Regions from separate parts of the Homo sapiens genome. Here region 2 is linked to region 1. Evidence: promoter capture Hi-C in 16 types of primary human blood cells and fetal thymus (Javierre and others, 2016). All regions are on one chromosome and are shown on one strand. The core of a region is centred on a gene start or on the middle of the fragment in contact, and the rest is flanking DNA. Distances in the headings are between cores, read along the strand shown. Region 1 holds the start of C1QBP (complement C1q binding protein). Region 2 holds the start of SLC52A1 (solute carrier family 52 member 1).

What was found. Contacts are between HindIII fragments. The CHiCAGO score rates a contact against its expected background, and 5 or more counts as called.
Region 2: the fragment with the promoter of SLC52A1 here is called in contact with the fragment with the promoter of C1QBP in region 1 in 3 of 17 cell types (naive B cells, naive CD8 T cells and total B cells); the score reaches 6.4 in naive B cells.

What each region holds. Positions count from the first base shown.
Region 1 is chr17:5,436,611-5,441,736 of GRCh38, reverse strand. It overlaps C1QBP (complement C1q binding protein), which reads left to right and starts at 2,582. Exons shown (of 6, transcript NM_001212.4): 1 at 2,582-2,895; 2 at 3,464-3,614. The coding sequence starts at 2,664. DHX33 (DEAH-box helicase 33) reads left to right here. Exons shown (of 12, transcript NM_020162.4): 12 at 1-820. RefSeq lists an enhancer at 2,186-2,365 and silencers at 2,425-2,607, 2,586-2,755, 2,866-2,915. The HindIII fragment of the contact is 1,457 bases long and covers 2,018-3,474 here.
Region 2 is chr17:5,033,185-5,038,310 of GRCh38, reverse strand. SLC52A1 (solute carrier family 52 member 1) reads left to right here and starts at 2,885. Exons shown (of 5, transcript NM_017986.4): 1 at 2,885-3,450; 2 at 3,598-3,834; 3 at 3,953-4,832; 4 at 4,927-5,050. The coding sequence starts at 3,705. The region is part of intron 3 of LOC105371501 (a long non-coding RNA gene); the gene reads right to left. The HindIII fragment of the contact is 18,376 bases long and covers 1-5,126 here.

The sequences.
Region 1 (5,126 bases), core at 1,333-3,832:
GGTAGAGTTTTAATACAGTATTTAGTTTTTTATTGGGCTTTTTTAAAAAGTTAACTTTTAACATAGCTGCTCAGGGATTAAATCAGATTGGAAAACCCATTCTGACTCCACATACTGCTACAAAGAAATACATCGTTGTTTATATTGAGCTGCAGGAGATAGTACACTTTAAACTTAAGAAAGTTAAATGTTTCACAATAACATTGCAATATAATCTTCAGCTACTCTCTTTCCATTGGTAAAATCTCTGATGGTGTGATAACTCTTTGCCAACCTACGAAACCCATATCTGGAAGAATCACCAGCTCCCGTGAGCAGCTTCATGTAAATAGATGCACTCCAAGCAGATTGCATGCCTCAGGTGTTTGTCTTCTAGTAATCATGGAGTGTGCAACACCCAGAGTAACACTACAAGGGGCAGGACTGCAAACAGCAGGTCCTGGCTAAAAACCCTTAATGCTGCATTGCTGCCAGTTGTAAAGAGATGCCTGAATGGAGGCAAGTTCTGCCCTGTGGGTGAAACTGATGATGTACTGTACTGTCATATATAAATCCACTAAATCCAGCTACCAGGAACTGCCTGGAACTGTGGCCATGCATTTTTTTTTTTCTTTAAAGACCAGTGTGATAGTAGGCCATGCATCTGAGATACGATATTCCTTGGTAACTAGAGGGAGAAAAAAAAATCAAGTAGGTTCAGGCTTATGTTGTATTTTGAGAGTCTGGTTTTATTTGAACAGAAATAACTCTACAGAAAGCTCTTGTAAATAATGCTCAAATTTGCACCCGACGATCAAATCCATTAAAAATGAATCTTGTATATGATGTGTGTGGCTTGTTTCTTGCATCTCTTTTCCATTATTCATAGAAAATTATTTAGAAAATATTAAGTGTTAGTCTTACCATGAGTTAGTAAGACATACCTTCTTAGTAGCTTATATGTCCTGTATATCCTGGGAAGGTAGGATTGTTGATTTTTAATAAATCTGAACCCTGTCTTTGGGTTATATTAATTTACTGGAGAAACTCACAGAACTCAGGGAAACACATTTACCGGTTTCATACAAAAGATATGACCAAGGATACAGATAAGGAGATGAGCAGGGTGGGGAATGGGGAAGAAGCTCCCAGCCTCCATGCCGTCCCTGGACCACCACCCTCCAGGAACCTCCATGTATTTAGCTATCAGAGGCTCTCCAAACCCTGTCCTCGGGTTTTTATGGAAGCCTCTGGACTTATCTAAATGATATAAGCTGGCTTCTTGTCCCCAGAAAAATGATGTTCCATTAGAACTTGGATGCAAGGTTGGAGGTGCAGAGAGGGAAGGTCACAAAAATTAATCATGGATCCTGCCCTTGAGGATGTCACAGTCTGGTTGGGTTTAACCTGGTTAAAGCAGCAACGCTAGGAGGTTCCTGTTGAAAAGAGAATGAAGCATATGGGCTGGGTGCGCACAAGCATGAGTTCCGAGCCGGTGGAAAAAAAGGTTCTAGAAGGCCTCTTTCAGGAAAACCCTCAGACTTTCCTTTGCTCTCACAACACAACAATCAACACAGAAGACTTATGTGGCCAAAGGTTTGGGTTTTTCCCCTCCACACTAAGCAGCAGACACCAGCTGGGTGTCCTCCAATTCAATCCCAACAGTATCTACCTGGAGATAGTGTCAGATCCCATAGGTTGAGGGCTCAGTCCCCAAGACCGCCCCCACCTTCAGACAGCAATGGCAAGTCTGGGCCTCTGAAACTTCCGACCAACCCGCTTCAAGTTGGGGTTCCCACGACCCCCCTCTTTGGATTATGTTAACTCACTGGAGCAGTTCACAGAACTCAGGGAAACACATTCACCGGTTTCATATAAAGGATATGACCAAGGATACAGATGAGATGAGCAGGGTGGGGAATGGGGAAGAAGCTCCGAGGTTCCTTGCCTACCCTGGGCCACCACCCTCCAGGAACCTCTACGTATTCAGCTGTCAGAGGCTCTGCAAACCCTCTCCTCTTGGGTTTTTATGGAAGCTTCTGGACATCAGCATCCCTTCCCCCAGGGTATATGGTGGGACCTTCTCTGGGAAGGGACTTAAGACCCATAATCAGAAATGTGGAAGGAGATTAGAGTCCTGCTTTGGGGCAGGTAAAAGGAGGGCAGGAGAAGGGGAGAGTCTGTTTCCTGAGGCCTAACACACCCAACATTATCACAGAACATTGTAACAAGGGCTATAGGAGTTACGACCCAGGAACTGTGGATGAAAACCAATACATATATATATCATAACACCACAGCCTCCTAGAGGAAAGTGACCGTGGAAGGGTCTGGTGAGAGCTGGCGGGAGACAAGAGTGCATTCCACGCAGCCCAAAAGCCTTGCGTGCTTTGAGAACAGCAGGTGGAAAGTGGGTAAGCGGCCACTAGAGGGAATTAAACAGCTTCGGACAGCGGACTCGGCAGCGCAGCAAGAAAGCTCCGGAATCCGGATTCGAGGCTTCCCGGGCTGCACCGGAGTCTCCAGCAGAGGGCGCGATTCCGCCCGCTGGCCTTAGGTCGTCAGAGCGCCGGCGCGGGAAGCGCTTCCGGGCAGGGGCGGGGCTTCCGGCGGCGCCTCAGGTCGCGGGGCGCCTAGGCCTGGGTTGTCCTTTGCATCTGCACGTGTTCGCAGTCGTTTCCGCGATGCTGCCTCTGCTGCGCTGCGTGCCCCGTGTGCTGGGCTCCTCCGTCGCCGGCCTCCGCGCTGCCGCGCCCGCCTCGCCTTTCCGGCAGCTCCTGCAGCCGGCACCCCGGCTGTGCACCCGGCCCTTCGGGCTGCTCAGCGTGCGCGCAGGTTCCGAGCGGCGGCCGGGCCTCCTGCGGCCTCGCGGACCCTGCGCCTGTGGCTGTGGCTGCGGCTCGCTGCACACCGACGGTGAGGTTTAGCGGGCCGGGGGTGTGGTTTGCGTTCAACAGAGGGAAAACGTAGACCAGGAATAGGGCCTGCAACCGACCTCTGAGGTCTGGGACATTTTTCCATTGATTGGCAACCAGCGGGCTAAACCCACGTATGATCATATTTCCCCCACCTCCCCTATCCAGCAGTTTCGTTTTCTTTTGGTAGGGGGTGAATAAAATTAAATACTAGGGTACCTTTTTCCTTAGTCTTATTCTATCGAAAGTGGACCTTTGGGAAGGCCCATGGTCGTGGTTGAAAATAGCATAGTTATATCGTTTGGCAAGTGGAAGAGGATTGGAAATTCTCCTGGTTTATAGCGGAAAGTGGTAATGCGTTCATTGTTGGAAATCACTTTTCCAGAATCAGGCTCAGCTTCCTACTACTATTATGGTATTTTTACCGATAAGGAAACAGGCTTCTAGAGTAACCGTAATAGCAGAGAGATTAGAAACAGTCCAGGTTTCTGGCTGCAATAACCTGGGTAATAGTTTTATGTTTTAGACTAACTGGCTTTCCTTTTTATGTATCTGGATTTCTTTTCTAGGAGACAAAGCTTTTGTTGATTTCCTGAGTGATGAAATTAAGGAGGAAAGAAAAATTCAGAAGCATAAAACCCTCCCTAAGATGTCTGGAGGTTGGGAGCTGGAACTGAATGGGACAGAAGCGAAATTAGTGCGGAAAGTTGCCGGGGAAAAGTAAGTACTGGTCTGGGGATCCCAGGGCAGCAACTCCCTTAACCTTGCAGGACCCATCCTGGGTCATCCCCAGAAGAGCCTTGAGTTCAGGTGTGGATACTTTGATAAATGGGTTTCAAGAGAGTGAAGGATTCATTTGGACAACTTCGTAAGCCCCAGGCAGTCCATTCACCGAACACAAATTTGCTGTGGGCTGGTTACTAAGGAGACAAAAATGTAGTGCAAAAAAGTACTGGCAGAATCAGTTTGATCTCTGATTTACAGCCCTGATAAAATAGGACACTGCTCTCTAATGTTTAGTATGGGTGAAAATGAAAAATATGTAACTTCTATGTAACAGGATGGGGTTACACTGTAGTAAGGGCTGCCATCAGAGGTGGGGAGTTTGTGACCTAAGTCAGCTCCCCCATCATCTCCTAAACTGTTAAAGTGTTTACACTTTTCTGCATTATAGTCATCCATAATCTCATTACACAGATAAACATTTGGCATCTTCCAGGTTTTTAAATTGAGCCTGGGCGCGGTGGCTCACACCCATAATCCCAGCACTTTGGGACGGGCAGATCATGAGGTCAGGAGAAAATCCTGGCTAACACTAAAACCCTGGCTCTAGTAAAAATTAACCGGGTATGGTGGCACGTGCCTGTAGTCCCAGCTACTCGGGAGGCTGAGGCAGGGGAATCGCTTGAACCTGGGAGGTGGAGGTTGCAGTGAGTCGAGATCGCGCCACCGCGCTCCAGCCTGGGCAACAGAGCAAGACGCCATCTCAATAATAAATAAATAAATTGAATTTCCTTCATAATTGACCTTATGATGTGTATGTAATTTTTTTAAATCACAGCTTTTATGAGATTTAATTGAGATGGCATACGATTTACCCATTTATTGAAGTTTATTAAATTAAGTGGTTCTTAGTCCTCGCAGAATTATGCATCAGTTATCACTACCTAATTCTAGAACACTGTTGTCATCCCCAAACAATACCTATTAGCAGTCACTCATTATTCCTCCCTGTAGCCACCCCAGGTAATCACTAAGCTACTTTCTCTATGGGATTGCCTCTTTTGGACATTTCATATAAATGGAGTCATACAATTTGTAGCTTCCCCCCCCAACCCCACGGAGTCTTGCTCTGTCACCCAGGATGGAGTGCAGTGGTGCGATCTTGGCTCACTGCAACCTCTGCCTCCCAGGTTCTGACAATTCTCCTGCCTCAGCCTCCTTAGCTGGGATTACAGGCGTGCGTCCGGTTAATTTTTGTATTTTTAGTAGAGACAGGGTTTCACCGTGTTGGCCAGGCTGGTCTCAAAGTCCTGACCTCGTGATCCGCCCGCCTTGGCCTCCCAAAGTGCTGGGATTTCAGGTGTGAGCCACCCTGCCCACCCTATTTACCTTTTTAATTGTTGGGTTGTAAAAGTTAAGTTTTTCTGGGTACAACTATCTTATCAAATTAATGATTTGTAAGTACTGTTTCCCATCTTGTGGGTTTCCTTTTCACTTTCTTGGTAATGT
Region 2 (5,126 bases), core at 1,636-4,135, 400 kb after region 1:
AAGTGATCCTCTCACCTCAGGCTCCTGAGTAGCTGGAATTACAGGCACACACCACTGTGTCAGGCTTGTGTTTTTTGAAACACAGATTTTAGGCCGGGCGCAGTGGCTCACACATGTAATCCCAGCACTTTGGGAGGCTGAGGCGGGCGGATCACTTGAGGTCAGGAGTTCAAGACCAGCCTGGCCAACATGGTGAAACCCCGTCTCTACTAAAAATACAAAAAATTAGCCGGGCGTGGTGGCAGGCGCCTGTAGTCCCAGCTACTCGGGAGGCTGAGGCAGGAGAATGGCGTGAACCTGGGAGGCAGAGCTTGCAGTGAGCCGAGATTGAGCCACTGCACTCCAGCCTGGGCGACACAGTGAGACTCCGTCTCAAAAAAAAAAAAAAAAAAAAAAGGAAGGAAGAAAGAAAGAAACAGATTTTAGGGTATTATTGGAAGAAAGAAAGAAACAGATTTTAGGGTATTATTGGTTTATTTATTCAACAACAATTTGAGCACGTCCTATGTGGTATAATGATCACTGAGAATAGGGTAGGTAGTGAAATAGACAAAGTGCCTCCTCCGCGCAAACGTACATCCTAGTGAGGGAGATAGACCAGCAAACTTGTTCTGTAAATGGCCAGACAGTAAACATTTTAGGCTTTGAGGGCCACACAGTCTCTGTGGAAACCATTCAGCTCTGCCCTTATAGCAGGAAAGCAGGTGTAGACAATAGGTAAATGAATGGGCTTGGCTGTGTTCTGATAGTATTTTATTTATGGACACTGAAATTTTTTTTTGTTTGGGGGGGTGGATGGAGTCTCGCTCTGTTGTCTCGACTGGACTGCAGTGGCACAAGCTCAGCTCACTGCAACCTCCACCTCCCTGGTTCAAGCGATTCTCATATCTCAGCCTCCCGAGTAGCTGGGATTACAGGCGCCCGCCACCATACCCAGCTAATTTGTGTATTTTTAGTAGAGACGGGGTTCACCATGTTGGCCAGGCTGGTCTTGAACTCCTGATCTCAGGTGATCAGCCCGCCTCGGCCTCCCAAAGTGTTGGGATTACAGGCGTGAGCCACCACGCCTGGCCTACCGAAATTTAAATTTCATATGCTTTTAGTTTTCACGGGTTAGGAAATACGATTCTTTTGTTTTCTTTGTTTTTTGTTTTGTTTTGGTTTTAGACAGGGTCTCACTGTCACCCAAGCTGGAGTACATTGGCACAATCATGGCTCATTGCAGCCTTGACCTCCTGTGCTCAAGGGATGCTCTCACCTCAGACGCCTGAGTAGCTGGGACTACAGATATTGATTTTTTTTTCCAACCATTTAAAAATGTAAAAACAGCTGGACGTGGTGGCATGTGCTTGTAGTCCCAGCTGCTCAGGAGGCTGAGGTGGGAGGATCCTTGAGCCCAGGTATTTGAGGCTGCAGTGAGCTGTGATTGTGCTACTGCACTTCCTTTTGAGGAAGACACTTTCTCAAAAATAGTAATAAAAATAAATAAATAAATATGTGAAAACCTGTCTTAGCTAGCAGGCCATACAAAAATGGGTAGTAGGTCAGGGTAATCCCTGAGATGGTCAGTGAGTAAACAAGTACAAAATATCATTAAAGGGCCAGACATGGTGGCTCACGCCTGTAATCCCAGCACTTTGGGAGGCTGAGGCGGGCGGATCACCTGAGGTCAGGAGTTCGAGACGAGCCTGGCCAATATGGTGAAACCCCATCTCTACGAAAAATACAAAAATTATCCAGGCGTGGTGGCAGGCGTCTGTAATCCCAGCTACTCGGGAGTCTGAGGCAGGAGAATGGCGTGAACCTGGAAGGTGGAGCTTGCAGTGAGCCGAGATCGCGCCACTGCACTCCAGCCTGGGCGACAGAGCGAGACTCCGTCTCAAAAAAAAAAAAAAAAAAAAAAAAAAGCAAAAATTAGCCAGGTGTGCACACCACGTCCAGCTAATTTTTTTTCAACCATTTAAAAGTGTAAAAACAGCTGGCCAGGCACGGTGGCTCACGCCTGTAATCCCCAACACTTTGGGAGGCCGGGGCAGGTGGATCACCTGAGGTCAGGAGTTCAAGACCAGCCTAGCTAACATGGCGAGACCCTGTGCACTAAAAAGACAAAAATTAGCAGGGCATGGTGGTGGGCGCCTGTAATTCCAGCTACTCGGGAGGCTGAGGCAGGAGAATGGCTTGAACCCGGGAGGCAGAGGCTCGTGCCATTGCACTCCAGCCTGGGCAACAAGAGCAAAACTCCGTCTCAAAAAAAAAAAAAAAAAAAAAAAGTGTAAAAACAGCTGAGCGTGGCGGTAGCTAGGTGTGGTGCGTCTGTAGTCCCAGCTACTTGGGAGGCTGAGGTAGGAAGATTGCTTGAGCCCAGGAGTGCCAAGCCAGCCTGAGCAACATAGTGAGACCTTGTCTCTACCAAAAAAAAAAAAAAAAAAAAAAAAAATTAGCTGGACATGGTGATGCTCGCCTGTGGTCCCAGCTACTTGTGGGGGGGTGGGGAGAGGCTGAGTGGGAGGATCCCTTGAGCTTGGGAGGTTGAGGCTGTAGTGAGCCGCGATCGCGCACCGCTGCGCTCTAGCCTGGGTGACAGAGTGAGACCCCGTCTCAAAATTAATTAATTAATTAAAACAACAAACAACAAAACCCCAGCTGTGTGGGCTCTGGGCTGGGCCGCCTCCCCGGCGGAGGGGGCTCCCTCTCAGGCAGACCGCCAGCCGCTGGGTCCGGGGACTGCCGGATCCGGAGGTGCGGGGACCCCTGCGCACCTGGCGGCTCCCGGGATGCCCCCCTGAGGCAGGCGGGAGGGCAGCACGGAGACGCCCCTCCGGGCAGAGCCCGCCCCAGCCACTCCCCTCTCCAACTCGACCTGCCTCAGCAAGTCCTGAGTGTCGCAAAAGCGCTAGGGTTGCAAGTGGCACCAGAGACGTGCCCTTGTCCCGGGGTCCATTTGAGGGTGAGCGTGTTGGTGCCGAGCTGTTTTTTTGTTTTGTTTTGTTTTGTTTTGTTTTTGAGACCGAATCTCGTTCTGTCGCCCAGGCTGGAATGCAGTGGTGTGATCTTGGCTCACTGCAACCTCCACCTTCCGGGTTCAAGTGAATCTCCTGCCTCAGCCTCCTGAGTAGCTGGGATTACTGGCACCCACCACCACGACCAGCTAATTTTTGTATTTTTAGTAGAGACGGGTTTTCACCATGTTGGCCAGGATGGTCTCAATCTCCTGACCTCAGGCGATCTGCCTTCCTCAGCTTCCCAAAGTGCTGGGATTACAGGTGTGAGCCACCGCACCCGGCCAGTGCTGAGCTGTTTTGACAACTTGGACCCCGGGTCCTCTGTGGGTAGGAAAATCAGCTCCCTCTTTGCTCCTCTGGGGCAGCTGCACCTCGGGCCAGCTTTCTGCCTGTCTGCCTGCCGGCACTGCTGGGTCGCTGTACCCAAACGCACAGCCGGTGCCCCGTGGTAAGTCCTGGCTCCCCACCTTCCCCGCCCGCCCCCGGCCACCTCTCCCTCCAGTTGCCCTGGTCTTAGCAGTCTGACCGACTTGTCTTCTGACTCCGGTTCTGTCCCACCAGCCTATTACCTGCCAGCCTGTCTGTTTCCCTCCAGCTAGAAGGTCTTCAGTTTCCAGAAGAACCAAAGCATCTTTGGACCTACCTAGGGAAGGACCTGCCTGTGACCTTTGCCCTGTCCTGGAGGGTCCAGCTTTGGGCTGAATGGCAGCACCCACGCTGGGCCGTCTGGTGCTGACCCACCTGCTGGTGGCCCTTTTTGGCATGGGCTCCTGGGCTGCTGTGAACGGGATCTGGGTGGAGCTGCCTGTGGTGGTAAAAGACCTTCCAGAGGGTGAGTGGGAGGGAGGTACAGGGAAGCGTGGGGCAGGTATGCCCAGAAAGGTGGCCTGTGGCAGCTCTTTGTCCCTTAGCCACTGTGCTCCTGACATGGCATCATTCCTTCCCTGCAGGTTGGAGCCTCCCCTCATACCTCTCTGTGGTTGTGGCGCTGGGAAACCTGGGTCTGCTGGTGGTGACCCTGTGGAGGCAGCTGGCCCCGGGCAAGGGCGAGCAGGTCCCCATCCAGGTGGTACAGGTGCTGAGTGTAGTGGGCACAGCCCTGCTGGCCCCTCTGTGGCACCACGTGGCCCCAGTGGCAGGGCAGCTCCACTCTGTGGCCTTCCTAACTCTGGCCTTGGTGTTGGCAATGGCCTGTTGTACCTCTAATGTCACTTTCCTGCCCTTCCTGAGCCACCTGCCACCTCCTTTCTTACGGTCTTTCTTCCTGGGTCAGGGTCTCAGTGCCCTACTCCCCTGTGTGCTGGCCCTAGTGCAAGGTGTGGGCCGCCTCGAGTGCCCACCAGCGCCCACCAATGGCACCTCTGGGCCTCCCCTCGACTTCCCTGAGCGTTTTCCTGCCAGCACCTTCTTCTGGGCACTGACTGCCCTTCTGGTCACTTCAGCTGCCGCCTTCCGGGGTCTCCTGTTGCTGTTGCCATCACTACCCTCTGTAACCACAGGGGGCTCAGGGCCTGAACTTCAACTGGGATCCCCAGGAGCAGAGGAGGAAGAGAAGGAGGAAGAAGAGGCTTTGCCATTGCAGGAGCCACCGAGCCAGGCAGCAGGCACCATCCCTGGCCCAGACCCTGAGGCCCATCAGCTGTTCTCAGCCCATGGTGCCTTCCTGCTGGGCCTGATGGCCTTCACCAGTGCCGTGACCAATGGCGTGCTGCCTTCTGTGCAGAGCTTTTCCTGTTTGCCCTATGGGCGCCTGGCCTACCACCTGGCTGTGGTGCTGGGCAGTGCCGCCAACCCCCTTGCCTGCTTCCTGGCCATGGGCGTGCTGTGCAGGTGCAAAAGGGTCCCCAGGCTTGGTGGGTGGAACTTAAGGTTGGGGTCCAGGTCCCAGAACAGCCAGCCCTGAGTCTCTGCTCATCCCCAACAGGTCCCTGGCAGGGCTGGTTGGTCTTTCTCTGCTGGGCATGCTCTTTGGGGCCTACCTGATGGCACTGGCAATCCTGAGCCCCTGCCCACCCCTGGTGGGCACCACTGCAGGGGTGGTCCTTGTGGTGAGCAAGTGGAGACATGAAGTGGGGAGGAGGGTGTCCCCTGGAGCAAGTGCATGTCATGCTCAGCCTGCTGCTG